Linked DNA regions of Homo sapiens: regions 1, 2 and 3 are each linked to region 4. Evidence: promoter capture Hi-C in human tissues and cell types (Jung and others, 2019). All regions are on one chromosome and are shown on one strand. Each heading gives the region's core, a stretch centred on a gene start or on the middle of the fragment in contact. The rest is flanking DNA. Distances are from core to core; before and after follow the strand shown.

Evidence for each region. The method cuts DNA at HindIII sites, captures the fragments that hold promoters and counts their contacts. A contact is called where the count stands out against the background at its distance.
Region 1: a fragment that was not itself captured here is called in contact with the fragment with the promoter of ERBB4 in region 4 in 1 of the 25 tissues and cell types used here (hippocampus).
Region 2: a contact is called between a fragment that was not itself captured here and the fragment with the promoter of ERBB4 in region 4, in 1 of the 25 tissues and cell types used here (dorsolateral prefrontal cortex).
Region 3: a contact is called between a fragment that was not itself captured here and the fragment with the promoter of ERBB4 in region 4, in 1 of the 25 tissues and cell types used here (aorta).

The regions. Positions count from the first base shown.
Region 1 is chr2:212,250,943-212,254,302 of GRCh38, forward strand. All of the region lies in intron 1 of ERBB4 (erb-b2 receptor tyrosine kinase 4), which reads right to left. Among named protein-coding and RNA genes, the nearest start is that of MIR548F2, 170 kb to the right of the region's middle. The HindIII fragment of the contact is 5,024 bases long and covers 1-3,360 here.
Region 2 is chr2:212,217,312-212,220,537 of GRCh38, forward strand. The region is part of intron 1 of ERBB4 (erb-b2 receptor tyrosine kinase 4); the gene reads right to left. Among named protein-coding and RNA genes, the nearest start is that of MIR548F2, 210 kb to the right of the region's middle. The HindIII fragment of the contact is 5,379 bases long and covers 1-3,226 here.
Region 3 is chr2:212,044,868-212,047,997 of GRCh38, forward strand. The region is part of intron 2 of ERBB4 (erb-b2 receptor tyrosine kinase 4); the gene reads right to left. Among named protein-coding and RNA genes, the nearest start is that of MIR548F2, 380 kb to the right of the region's middle. The HindIII fragment of the contact is 5,412 bases long and covers 1-3,130 here.
Region 4 is chr2:212,537,153-212,540,482 of GRCh38, forward strand. ERBB4 (erb-b2 receptor tyrosine kinase 4) reads right to left here and starts at 1,650. Exons shown (of 28, transcript NM_005235.3): 1 at 1,297-1,650. The coding sequence starts at 1,378. RefSeq lists an enhancer at 181-681. The HindIII fragment of the contact is 8,258 bases long and covers 1-3,330 here.

The DNA.
Region 1 (3,360 bases), core at 358-2,857, 290 kb before region 4:
TTTCTGATATTGACTGAGAGATTTTGCAACAAGGGGAAGTTTTAAAACTCTGGCACACAATTATGGAGTTAGTTTGTTTATCAAATAGTCTAGGGCTGGCAATAGCAACTAAGCTTCAAGTTGATGGGTACAAAATTATTTCAAATTTTCTGAGTTGAAAACTTGTTATTCTATTGAGGATATACTTGACTCAATCTAAAATGTCTTTACATCCTGAATTCCAGTAAGACACAAAATTTCTATTAGGAAGAATTATATATACAGTTTGCTTTTTATTTACAAAAATGCTCTTATTAGAAGCTTATTGAAAACTGCCATATTAGTCTAAGAAGTTAAAAGCATCCAGCATGTATACATTCATTTATTTATTCATTTATTTGATAAACATTTATTCATATTTAATATGCAGCAGGCATCATTCTAGGCACTTGAAAAACAGCAGGGAATAAACTAAAAACATAATCCCTGTCCTCAAGTACCTCATATCGTAGTGAGAAGAGAAAACAGACACGATAGGTAAAACATAACATGCTTTTGACAGTAGTAAGGAATAAGGAAAAAATAAAAAGCAAAAATGAGGATCAGTAGCTTTCAGGAACTTACAAGTTTTGATTGGAGGACTTTTGGGAAACTAGATGAAGAAAGTGAGAGAGGAAGCCATGCAGACATATGACAGAAAACTATACAGGCAAAAGGAATAGCAAATGCAGATATCCTGAGGTAGGGGTGTGCCCAATATATTTTAGGTATTTTTTAAAAAAAAGGTTAATACTTCAGAAGAAAAGCAAGCAAGGGTGAAATGGTAGGAAATGAATTTAGAAAGGTGACAGGTGGTCAGACCATGTAGTTATTTGAAGATCCATTGCTGGCTGTTAGTCAAAAAGATATAGGAAGCCATGGGAAGTTAACCACTAACCAGAGGAGTGCCATGGTCTGATTTACATTTTAGCACTCTAGCTTTTATACTGACAATGGATCACAAGGGTAAAAACAAGACTAGACAGAAAGCCACTGCAAAAATCCAAGCAAGTGAGAAGGGTAGCTTTTACAAGGGTAATGACAATGGAGGTGTTGAAATGTGGTTGGATTCTAGATATATTTTTAAAGTAGAACCTCAAAATGTTTGGCATGTGGATAAGGGCAGTGATGAGAAAAGGTCAAAGATACGTTCCAGGTGTCTGACTTAAGCAACTAAAAGAATCTATTTGCAATTTACTGCGATGACATATAAATTTGAGGGGTCATTTATATACAGCATTAAATAAATCACGACGATGGATATGACTGTAGATAGAAAAAAGGTATCCTAGAATTAATCCCTGTGGGGAACTCCAACATTTAGAGGTAGAGGAGGTAAACACAAATGAATGAAAGAGATTAAGAAGAGCAGAAAGGTAGGAGGAATTTTGGTGTCATGAAAGCCATGTTAAGAAAGTGTTTCAAAAAGAAGAGAATGACCGTCTGTGTCAAATGCTGCTGATAGATCAACGAAGACTAAAACTAAAATGTAAGCATGCCATATGAAGGTCATTTTGGACTTTGGTAAGAGTCATTTTAGTAAAATGGTAAGGTCCACTGGCTGACTGGAGTGATTTCAAGAAAAGATGGAGGAGCAAAATTAGAGATAGTGAAATTCAGCTAGACTTCTAAGACTTGTTTTTTCTTGGAAAGGAAAGAAATCAGGATGTAGCCAGGGGAAAAATTGGGGTCCAAAGAAAGTTTTTAAAATACTGGATAAATATCATCCTTTTATGCTGATGATCATAGAGGAAAGAATAATGAGACTTTTAGACAGACAGGTCATCTATAATAAAAAGAGAGAAGATAGCATATAGAGTCACAGATGCTATCACTTACACATGTAGGTGTGATGGCAGAAGCTTCTATTCCAATGCAGACATATGTATTGTAAAAATTAAAAGTTGAAAAGTGACACATATCTTTAGAGTATCATCTACAGACATTAGATGCTCAGACACATAATCAAAAGATACATTACAATGAGTGAGCATCTTGTGGGAAAATTTGCATAACATCATTTGCATTTCTTCTAATATTCATGACAGTTTGACATCTACATCCTATGTTTACATTGAGAAAAGTCGTCAGTTATATATTACATGCTTCATTAGCTTACTTTTCTTAGAATCAAATGTCTGTAGATTTATTCTATTAAATGTGAATAAACATCATGAGTAGCAGTCGCCAAAGTGATACCACATAATCTGTAATCGTTCTGGGGCTCCTTGACTAACATGTTCAATTAAAAGTTGTTACAAATTTCCTGGTAACCCTCTTATTTTGTATATGAATTTAACAAAGCAATAAAAGTGAGATGGGATTGAAGCTGTAACTACAAATAAAAATTAAATATTTAATAATGCTGAAGTAAATGAAAATTGAGTGAACATCTCAGGTAGTTATTATATGACTACATTTTGGTGCATTTTTCTTGATCTTATCAGTTTTCTCATTACTTTTTCCATTACATTAAAAAAACCTATAATAAGTAAATTTGCTTCTCTTCTTCATCAAAACCAGTTCTTCTCAGAATTTCATGTTCATAGGAATCACTTAAGATCTTGTTAAAATGTAGGTTCTGATTCCGTAGTCTGGAGTGGGGCCCATACTTTTGCATTTCTAACTAGATTTCAGGTTTTGCCCATGCAGCTGGTTAGCAGAACACACTTGGAAAACAAGGGTCTAAACCACTCTGTTCTTGGCATTTGTGCAGAGGTTGAGATAAATTAATCATTTCATGCCTAATTTTTGGGTTGCCGTTAAAAAGTTAGTTAAGTAGTTAAGTAAAGTCATATGCCAGTTAATGAAGGGGATATGTTCTGAAAAATGTATCGTTAGGCATTTTGGTCACTGTGGGAACATCACAGAGTGTATTTACACAAGTCCACATGGTGTAGCCTACTACACACATAGGCTATCTGGTATAACCTATCACTCCTAGCCTGCACACCTGTATAGTATGTTACTGTACTGAATACTGTAGGCAATTGTAATACAATGGTATTTGTGTACCTAAATGTATCTAACTAAACACAGAAAAGGCACAGTAAAAATTCAGTATTATAATCTCAGGAGACCGCTGTGGTAGAGGTGGTCAGTCATTGACTGTTATTATGCCACACATGACTGTAAAATTTAAAAAAAAAATTAGTTGATTATCAATATGTATATTCCTAGAAGACCATATAAATAACATACAATTTTAAATCCTACTTAAAATATTATGGCCTCTAACTAAAAACAAATAAATACATTTTATAACAATTCCTCAGTCCAAACGTATTTGCTCATTATTTTATTTACCAACCCAGTGCCTAATTTCATACCAGCCCACTCACT
Region 2 (3,226 bases), core at 609-3,108, 320 kb before region 4:
CCACCAAAGCTTCTTAACATCTTTGCAAGTTCAAATGTTATTTAACCCTTAAAACTGAGGTTAAATGTGTTCATTCATTCAACAAATATTAATTGAGCAAGGCATTTTATATTAGAGACTTAGAAGAAAAAAAAAGACATGAAACTTTCTTCCAAAACAAAAGGGCAGACAATTTAATTTGAAGGAGACATGGAGAGAATTTGTTAGTATAAGAAGCTATGTCTCTAGAGGGTAGCCAGGGTAAGGCTAGGCAGACAACATATGTTTGAGTACCAGTTTCCAAAGGAAAAAGAAGGAAACGGTTCGATTTCTCACCGTGACAATCTATTGTCATCAGAACACATCAAGTACATTCAGAGGTAATTTAAACAGACCCATTAAAACATAAGCTCCAGAATCATAAAGAACTAGTTTCAAATTCAAGTTTAAAATACTGGTCATTTTGTTGAGTCTTGATAGTTTTTATAATTTAATTAAGCTTCCGTATATTAATTTATAAAATGAGATTACAAGGATTTTTGTGATGACCGAACAAGATAATATATGTAAAGCCCTTAGGTCTTAGAACATAATAAATGCCCAATAAAGTATATATTTCTTCTGGTGCACTTAAATCTTAAGACAGAATGTTGAATCAGCACATATCATGACAACCCAAAGATCAATAACTATTTGTAAATTAGATGAGAAAAAAGTATATTTATTGAATACCTAATACTGTCTGCTTGCTTCTGTGACATCATGTGACATGATTATTATGAAAAGTAACATAATAAGAATAAAGTAGTTCTTTACTATAGCCTCAAAGTCTCCATTGCTAACGAGAGCTGCTTTAGAAATATTGGCATAAAACCTTTTTTATAAGTTGCACATAATTACAGGATCAGCTTTGGGTTTCAATTGGTAAGAATTTCAGTTCTGTGCGGCCTTAATGAATAATATCTGAAGTACAAATTAAATTTTTTCTATCAGGAGGCTTATTCAGAAAATTATAGGCCATTTATTCCTTCCATAATATATGAGAAAGATAAATTTTTCCCTAACTCTATTCTTCAAAGAGTAAAACATCCTGGCTACAGCATTCATCCCTTTGTTTTGTCTGTCTGTTTGTTTGTGTGTTTGTTTGTTTGCATCCTTGCTTACTATTAAGGAAGCCTAGATGGTAAGACAATAAGAAAATAGAGGGCAAAGCCAGGCCATGTTCTCATAAGATTTAAGCCTGTGAGAGAACATCCAGAATTAATAATGTGTGAACCTGGAGCTAGTCAACCAGCTAATTGCCTTCAACACTGTTCATCATTAATCCAGAGATTGCCATTCCATTTTAGTTAAATAAGGAATTTCACATTGGCAAAAGTGAGTCTATAGTATTCATATCTCACTCTAGGTTGACTGCACAACCTCACAGGATGCCAATGGCTCATGCTGGCACATATCAATATCATGGGATTTATCCTGGTAACCTAGGTTTGTGTGCATCAGAAAGATGAGTTTCATGTATGTTTCTTAATTTACACATAATATATAGAATGGGGATATTCAGATTTCCCAAAGATAGCCATGTTTACTGTTTTTAAAGTCTCAAAAGATGTTTTAAAAGTTCACCATATGTACTAGAACTTTTATCCTTGAATGTATATGCCATTTTTTTTTTACCACTCAAACGTAAATCTACAGGGACCACACAATGATTCGTGTAGATTCCATTCCTTTTTATGATGCCAAAAATGTTTTAAAATAGTATTTTCTCCCCCGATTTAAAGAAAGGAAAGAATAGAGATTTTGTAGAATCATAAAATCATGAAGTGTCAGAGTTTACAGATTACAATCTAACTACTTAATGTTAAAAATGAAAAGAATGAGACCCAAAGAAGTTATGATTTTAAAAAATTGGTAAATGGTAGAACTAAAACCATTTCTTATTTTGTCCTCTAAACATTATTGCATTTCTGAAAAGTATACACATATGAATTATAAATGGTAGGGTGAAGTTTGTATAATGTCTTTTTATAGCAATCAATAAATAGGTGACTATGTCACATTTATACTGTAATTCTGATGCACACATAATACTTTAAAAACTGCTAAACAAGCATGTCAGAAAGACCTAAATTATAACATTTTTCTATATTATTTAATAAAAAATAATAAGATTTTTAAAGCAATTCCCTCCACTTGTGATTGACAAGATATACTATGATTCCAAACAGTCCAATTTTTGGTCACCTTCTCCCACTTGTGTTAGTTAAATCCAGAATGGGGGGAAAAATAAAAAATCTAATTATATTATTCATGCTAGCCTTGTATGCAGCATTCCTCTGCCCCTTACTGAGCCTCCCTAGAAGCTAGAAAGAGCCAATGGACAACTACATCACACACACACCCCATATCCTGATCATTCATCCCTGAAATTATGTATTCTTTACTCCTATACCTTATAAACAGTAGTGTAAATTGTGTGCATGGCCAAATTCATAACACAAAACACTCTTAGGAGCAAAATAGAAACCTGCACAAACCCTCTGGTTTTGTCAATGAAAACAACCTTTTATTATAAAGTGACAGTTTTATAACTTCAAAAATAGGCTTTAATTTTTATAGAACATTTAATTCAGGAATGAAAAATGTATTTTTATCAACCCGCAAAAAAAAAAAAAAGTGGGATTTTTCATCAGTGTTGCCAGAGGTGAAGGAAATTTACATGGTGAATGAAGTAAAAAGCCTATTTCAACTATCACAGTACCTTAAGGATGAAGAAAATAGTTTTAATTTTGGATAATAAATCACTTTTGTAGCATTTCAAAGATCAAGAAACTTGCTTATCAAAACAGAATGTAGTCATCATAATGCAAAGTCCTCAGGCAATGAGAATTGCAGTAAAATCTTTTTCTCCTTTTATAACTGGATCAATATTTTTGAGTATATAAGAATATGTACTCATTAAATCACTTTCACCTACTATATTTCATATTTGCTACAAATTACTTAATGTCACAGGAGACTGGAAGATCTATTTTAAATCTAAACACATAAGTACACTATCAAGTGGACACAAATAAGCATACACAAAGAAAAAGCTTTTTATTCGCCATCCCAAATGCCCAGCATTGCTTTGACCTAGTTATAAAAACCAGAGATTTGGTTTTATTTCCCAGCCTAAGAGTTAATTCTGATGATTTTAGCAGAAGGGAATGAATAGGAATATAGCATTCTCCTAAGACCTCTT
Region 3 (3,130 bases), core at 136-2,635, 490 kb before region 4:
CTCAGTTCCAATTGTTATGTGTTGTTTTTGATGGGATAGATACGATTTCAGTATCATCAGGGTCTGGCAGCAATAGGCTCAAAGATCTAATGAGCCTCTGACACTTCATTACCCGTCATATATTAACAGTTAACATAATAGCCATCAAAAGCTTAAAAAAGCTTTATTCTCACAATTGTTTATTGACCAAAAAATAATTATGTTATATGAATCTTGCATAAAAATATTGGTAATTGTCTTCTCAACTTGACCTTTGGGACTTGGATTCCCTTGGTATGGCAATTAAATATACTACGTGAGAATAAAACTAGGCTGGGTGCAGTGGCTCATGCTTGTAATCCCAGCGCTTTGGGAGGCCAAGGCAGGCAGATCACATGAAGCCAGGGGTTTGAGACCAGCCTGGCCAACATGGCGAAATCTGTCTCTACTAAAAATACAAAAATTAGCCAGACATGTGGTGCACATCTGTAGTCCCAGCTACCTGGGAGGCTGAGGCATGAGAATCACTTGAACCTGGGAGACAGAGGTTGCAGTGAGCCAAGATTGTGCCACTGCACTCCAGCCTGGGCAATAGAGGAGAGAGGAGATTCTGTCTCAACAAATTAAAGAAAGGAAAAAGAAAAGTAACATTTTGTTTTTGGTAATATATAGTAGTATAACCCTCAATTGCTTTCCAAATCCCATTCCCCCATAAAAGCATCGTCAGAAGATCCAAGCTACCATTGAAGTTTTAGCCTCAGGGAGGACTAAGTAAGAGTGGATCATACCTGGAAATGAGACTGAACAGTACCAACATGAAACGTCAATAAGACTTAAGGCTGATAGATGAACCTGAAAAGGCTTCTTTCTCCTGTCCTTACAGATGAACAAACCGCTACTGTGTCCAAGAATAGCTTTTACAATCAAAGTAGTCTGCTGAAATAACCAAGAGTGACAATCAGCTCTTAACTTCAAAAGGGAACTTCACATTTCCCGATGCTTCATTTACAAATGACCAGTAATATATATATCCTTGGCAGAGATGAACATTTGTAGCTATATCTCTAAGCACAAGGACAGAGATGTCAAACCCTCCTACTTTGTATCACCAATATATTCTATGGAATAAACCGTCTTAGACTCACTGGTATTCAGGGATTCTCTCATTCAAGCTATCACAATTCTCATGATCCACCATTTGCCTCTGAAGATGACAATTTGGATAAATGAGTAAAGATGGGAAACCCAATCCATGTTAATTTTTTTCAGACATGTGAAGTGGAGAAGAGAACCTGAAAATAATGCTGTTGAACAGAAATATGCGAAATCTAAAAATGGAGAGACCTAATTTTTTATGAGACATAATAAAAAAGCAAAAGGAAATAGAATCACAGCAGTTTGGTGCTACGAGACACCTAAGAGAATAAACTAATCCCTTCACTTTACAGATGAGGGACCTAGGCCCCAGAGAGGTGAAGCCCATTAACCATGTTTGCACATAGTAAACAGTAGCACAGCTAGAGAAGTTCAGTTTTCTGACCCTACCCACTATGCAACAATAAATCTGGTAAGGGAGTATTTTGCTGTTTATAAGTTAAATGTGTGCAGTTTTGAAAAGAACATTAAAGAAAAGTATAGGATGGTCTAGATCTGATATCACTCCCATATGAGTTTCCATTTATATATTTACTATTACTTAGCAGTATTGATGTATTTATCATTTACCTTCGTATTCATCAATTAATAGGACATTCTATTGTACAGAAGGATGTCTATTACAGTCCAGTGATTCTTATATTTTTCCACCAAATTGTCTATTTGCCATTGCAATGGAGTGGGAAATCTTAAAGCCAGGAGATTTGGGGGCCGTGGCACAAATCTATCAGATGTAATGGAAAAATTTCTTCACCTAGTGATATTTCATCCTAAGAGTAATGCAACGTTTGCTGTTTGCTGGTTGTCATGGTAAGCTGTTTTTTTCTCCCAAAAGTTCAAGGTAAATTAATGGCCCAAAAGTATACAAGATTTGCTTTGCTTAACCTTGTGGAATTCCTGCATATCTTCAAGAGTTCATCTACCTTGGATATACTGATTATATGCCATTTTCTTTTCCCAATTTGGAAGCTTACTATAGAAAATAAGCACAAAGAGCTGAGTGCAAAAATAATTCATACAAAGGATATATTTTTGGGTTCTCTATTTCATGTAATAGCCATTATTCTCCCAAAAAGAACATAATTTTAAGAGAAAAGTTACACTGAATTTTAACTGCATATTATATATTGTTGTCCTAAAATGAAGTAAAAAAAAACTTTTAAGTTTTCTACCTCTAACACTCTTTATCCTAAACAAAATCCACCCACACTTTACAAATTATCCAGCAATGTTAACTCAAATATACATGAATTTGAATAATCTATGAGTATCAACTGATTAATCAAAACAAAACTTCTAAATTATTCTCTTTAGTCTCAATAGCTTATCTAAATGGATGTGGACAGGATGAAACTACAAATATGTTTCACGAAAATAACACTATTTTGCAAGAATGAAAAGAATCTTAACTTTCTTCTAATTCTCCATTTGACCATTCTTGAAGATTCTCCTTCATATTAATTTTATTTATTTATTTATTTATTTATTTTAGATGGAGTCTTGTTCTGTCCCCCAGGCTAGAGAGCAGTGGCTTGATCTTGGCTCACTGCAACTTCTGCCTCTTGGGTTCAAGCAATTCTCCTGTCTTAGCTTCGCAAGTAGTTGGGACTACAGGTACCCACCACCACACTTGGCTAATTTTTTTTTTTTTTTTTGTATTTTAGTAGAGATGGGGTTTCACCATGTTGCCCAGGCTGGTCTCGAACTCCTGAGCTCAAGCAATCCACCCACCTCAGCCTCCCAAAGTGCTAGGATTAGAGGCATGAGCCACCGTGCCCAGCCCTTCATATTAATTTTTAAAACAAATATTTATAGAATGCTTGATATTTGATGATTCTTATAGACAACACTCTTGTTTTCATGGAGTTTAGAGATAATAATCAGACAGTAAGCAAACGTAAATAAATAAAAAGCACATTGTGATAGGTTCTATACAAGGAATTAAAGCAAAGTGATATAATGAGATTGATGTGTATGGAGAGGGTTACATTTTATT
Region 4 (3,330 bases), core at 400-2,899:
CGGAGCGGGAAAACTACAGCTAGCCGTTTTCTTGGTGAGGTCAGAAGGACACCCTCCGGGGGCCTAAAGCGCTCCCTATCGCCACTCCCGGGGGCTTTATCACCTCAAGCTACTTCCCACGCTCCAGTCACCATCCCTGGATGGTTTCGGAAATCTCTCTGGCTCTCCAAAAGGCACCCCTTGGCCACGTCAAGACACCGGTCCTCCTCAGACCTCTCCCGTCCCACTTTCATCCCCAGGAAACTCTAGTGTCAGAAACTTTGAGCTCCATTGCACTGCAGGTGCTGTCATTAGTCCTGCAAGCCGTGGCGGGCCAGCCCCGCCGCGCTGCCTCTCGGGGTCAATTAGCCCTTTGCCTGCCCAGGTACCTGGGGCTCGAGCTCTCCAGCAAGCAGTGGCCGCGCACCCATCGCCGCTGCCGCTTTCGCCTCGGGTGGATCCAGTGACCCGCAGGCTCGGCAGCCTGGCCGGGCAGTAAACAGACAAGTTTGAAGGACTCCGGCCAATAGCAAGTTGAACTACAGGAAGAACTCTTCCCGGAGCCAAACACGGCAACCGACGGGAAGGCCGGGCTTCTGGCTCAAGTGTGCCAAGCCTTTTTTTTTTTTTTTAAGAGGTCAGGCAGGCGAGTAAGCGCCCCTCAAGTCAATGGGGAGAGGGCTCCGGGAAGCCGGCGGAAGAGGCCCAGAACTCCGGGCCCCGGACCGAGGCGCGCCCGCCTGCTGCACTCCGGCTGCCCGGGCTGGGCGCGAGTTGCGTCTGACGCCACAAGGCTCGGGCGACTGGGGGCGCAGCGGTCGCCAGCAGCACACACAGGTGCAAAGCCCGATTTTCTGAGCGCCGCTCTCCACCGCCCTTCGGGCTCGGCTCGGGAGAGGCCCAGCCAGCACCGCCCCAGGACCGCGGCCCCGGCGGTGCGGGTTCTGCCCTCGGGGACCCGACAGGGACAGAAGAGTCTCCTCTGACTGGGGATTTGGGTCTCCCATGTCCCGAACAACAGGCGCCACCAGAAGGGATCCCGCTTAGGCTCCCAAACAAAACGCTCGGGAAAGAAAAGCAGGGGGTTAAGGAGAGAAAAGAGGGACTCAGAGTGATTTTTCACGATAAATAAAGCAAACGCACACATACAGGGTAAGTTTCAAATGGAAAGAGGGGTGACCGAAAGCCCAGGGAAGAGGCCCCGGTCAAGCGGTCCCTCCACGCCTCCCGGGATGGGTGAAGAGGGCAGGGGAGCCACTCGAGGCAGCCCCGCCGGCGGCTGCAGGTTCGGCGACCGGAGTGCCAGAAGGAACCCACCTGACTGAGAATCGCTGGGCTGGACGGTCCCCGCCGCCACGAGAAGGCTCACCCAGACCCAAAGTCCTGTCGCCGGCTTCATTTTTTGGAAGTCTCAGATCCCGTGCTGACAATTACATGTCCAAATGGCATATCCCCCTTTCGGGCACGCGGAGGAGATCCCCCAGCCGGGCGCGCGTGGGGGTGCGAGGGGGGCGGGCGCGGCGCGCGCGGTGTGGCGACTCCCAGGGCGGGCGACCGAGTCCGCGCCCGCGGGTCCAGGGCCGGGGCCCGAGGAGGGGGCGAGTGTGAGCGCGTGTGTGCGCGTGTGGGAGTGTGCTCGGTGTGTGCGCTTGGCGCTCTGGGCCGGACTGTGCAGCTATTTCCCCGCGTGAGCCTTCGCTTGCTCGCTCCCTCCTCACTTTCTCTCTCTCTCACTGGTTGGTCAACAATAAAAAAGGAAGGGGGGCGAAAGGTTTCCAAAAAAAGTTGATTGCAAAGAGGCGGTAGGTTTCCGGCCTCTCCCCGCAGCCGGGCTATGTTCTGCTCCTTCTTCAGTTTCCTTGCACCTCCAGTCCAAATCGGGAGGGGAGCGGGGCGGGGGGAGCTTCTCGCTTCTCCCCGGATCCCGTCCTTCTTTTTCCTCTCAGCTTTCCTCACACTTGTCCGGCGGCTGCGGTAATTAAAGCTCCGAGCGTCATTTCCAGCGCTCCGCGGTCTCCAGCTGCAGCCCACAGAGAAATTAATAAGACTCCAGAAAAAAAAAAAAAAAAGGTGCGGGGGGCGGTGGGAATAAAACAACCCTCCACGCAACCAGGCCGGCTCTGCTCAGCCGCGCAAACCCCGCCCATGCTCTGACCCAACTAGCCACGCCCTTCCCCCCCCCTTCCAAAGGGAAATCTTATTGGCTCAGCCACTCCCCAAAATCCTGGGCCTCCGGAGTTGGGAAAACACCTGTCAGGGAAAGGGAGCCTCTTGGTGGGGGCAGGGGAAGCTGGATTTAAAGGGCTCACCGAAGCCATGCACTGAAGCACTCGTCTTCCCTCCCTGGCAGAGGCCTGGGACAGCTGGCCTGCTGAGTGGACGGACCATTGGAGGGCCGCTTACGGAAATTTTTTTTTTTTTTAAACAAGAAAGTCAGCATTTTCTCCGTTGCCCCACGGTGCTCATCTACAGACAAGACTTTCCCTAGAAATAAAAGTCAATGTTGCTTTCAGCAAAAAGCCTCCGCCCGCAGTACTCTGCCACTCATGGTCCACAATTAGAAAGTACTTTAAAAGTGTGTACAGCAAGTAACTGGTAGCCCCTGAGGATTAGGTAGTGGTAGGGGTATAATCACCGCCCCGCCTCCCGCCCCCAGTTATGCCATCTCTCCGATTACTCCCACATTTCTAAACTGACCAACATTGAGCCAAACTAAACTTTCACATTTATAAAGGCATATCCTTTGATTTTTAGATTTTATGTTTTTTTTTCACCTTTGGAGTTCATTCTTATTAAGCAGATTCTAGTCCAAAGCCACTGATTTGATCTTAAAGGGCTAGAAATTGTCCCCAGCCTGAAAGAATTTAAGGAGGCCACATCAGAACATAATTAACCTTAAATGATTCTGTTTATTCTACAGTAGACCCAGCTTTAGGCCCCTTCCTTGTCCTCACTCTGCACATTCATGGTCCCTAATCTGGAGGTCATTGCTAGTTACGAAAGTCTCTGACCTTTTCTGAATCTAAAATATTCTGGGACTGGGTCATTTCAATGTACATATCCCTTGCCTTTTACAGCTCTGAAACCGCACCCTGGCAAGGGCCAGAATCTGCTGGGGGTAGTTATTGGTTTGCTATTTGTACAGGCATTCTATGTATGAATCACTTTCCTTTTTTGGTTTTTCTAGAAGCAGCAAATATATAAATAAAAAGTATCAGGGGAGCTTAAAAATCAAACCACCCTGCCTTTCATTTGAGACCTTGATCTCCATTTCCCACTCTCTTATCTATAGCCCCATCCCTTAAGAATTTCCATGGAGCTGAGAACAGATAGGAGGTACAGATGCCTGAA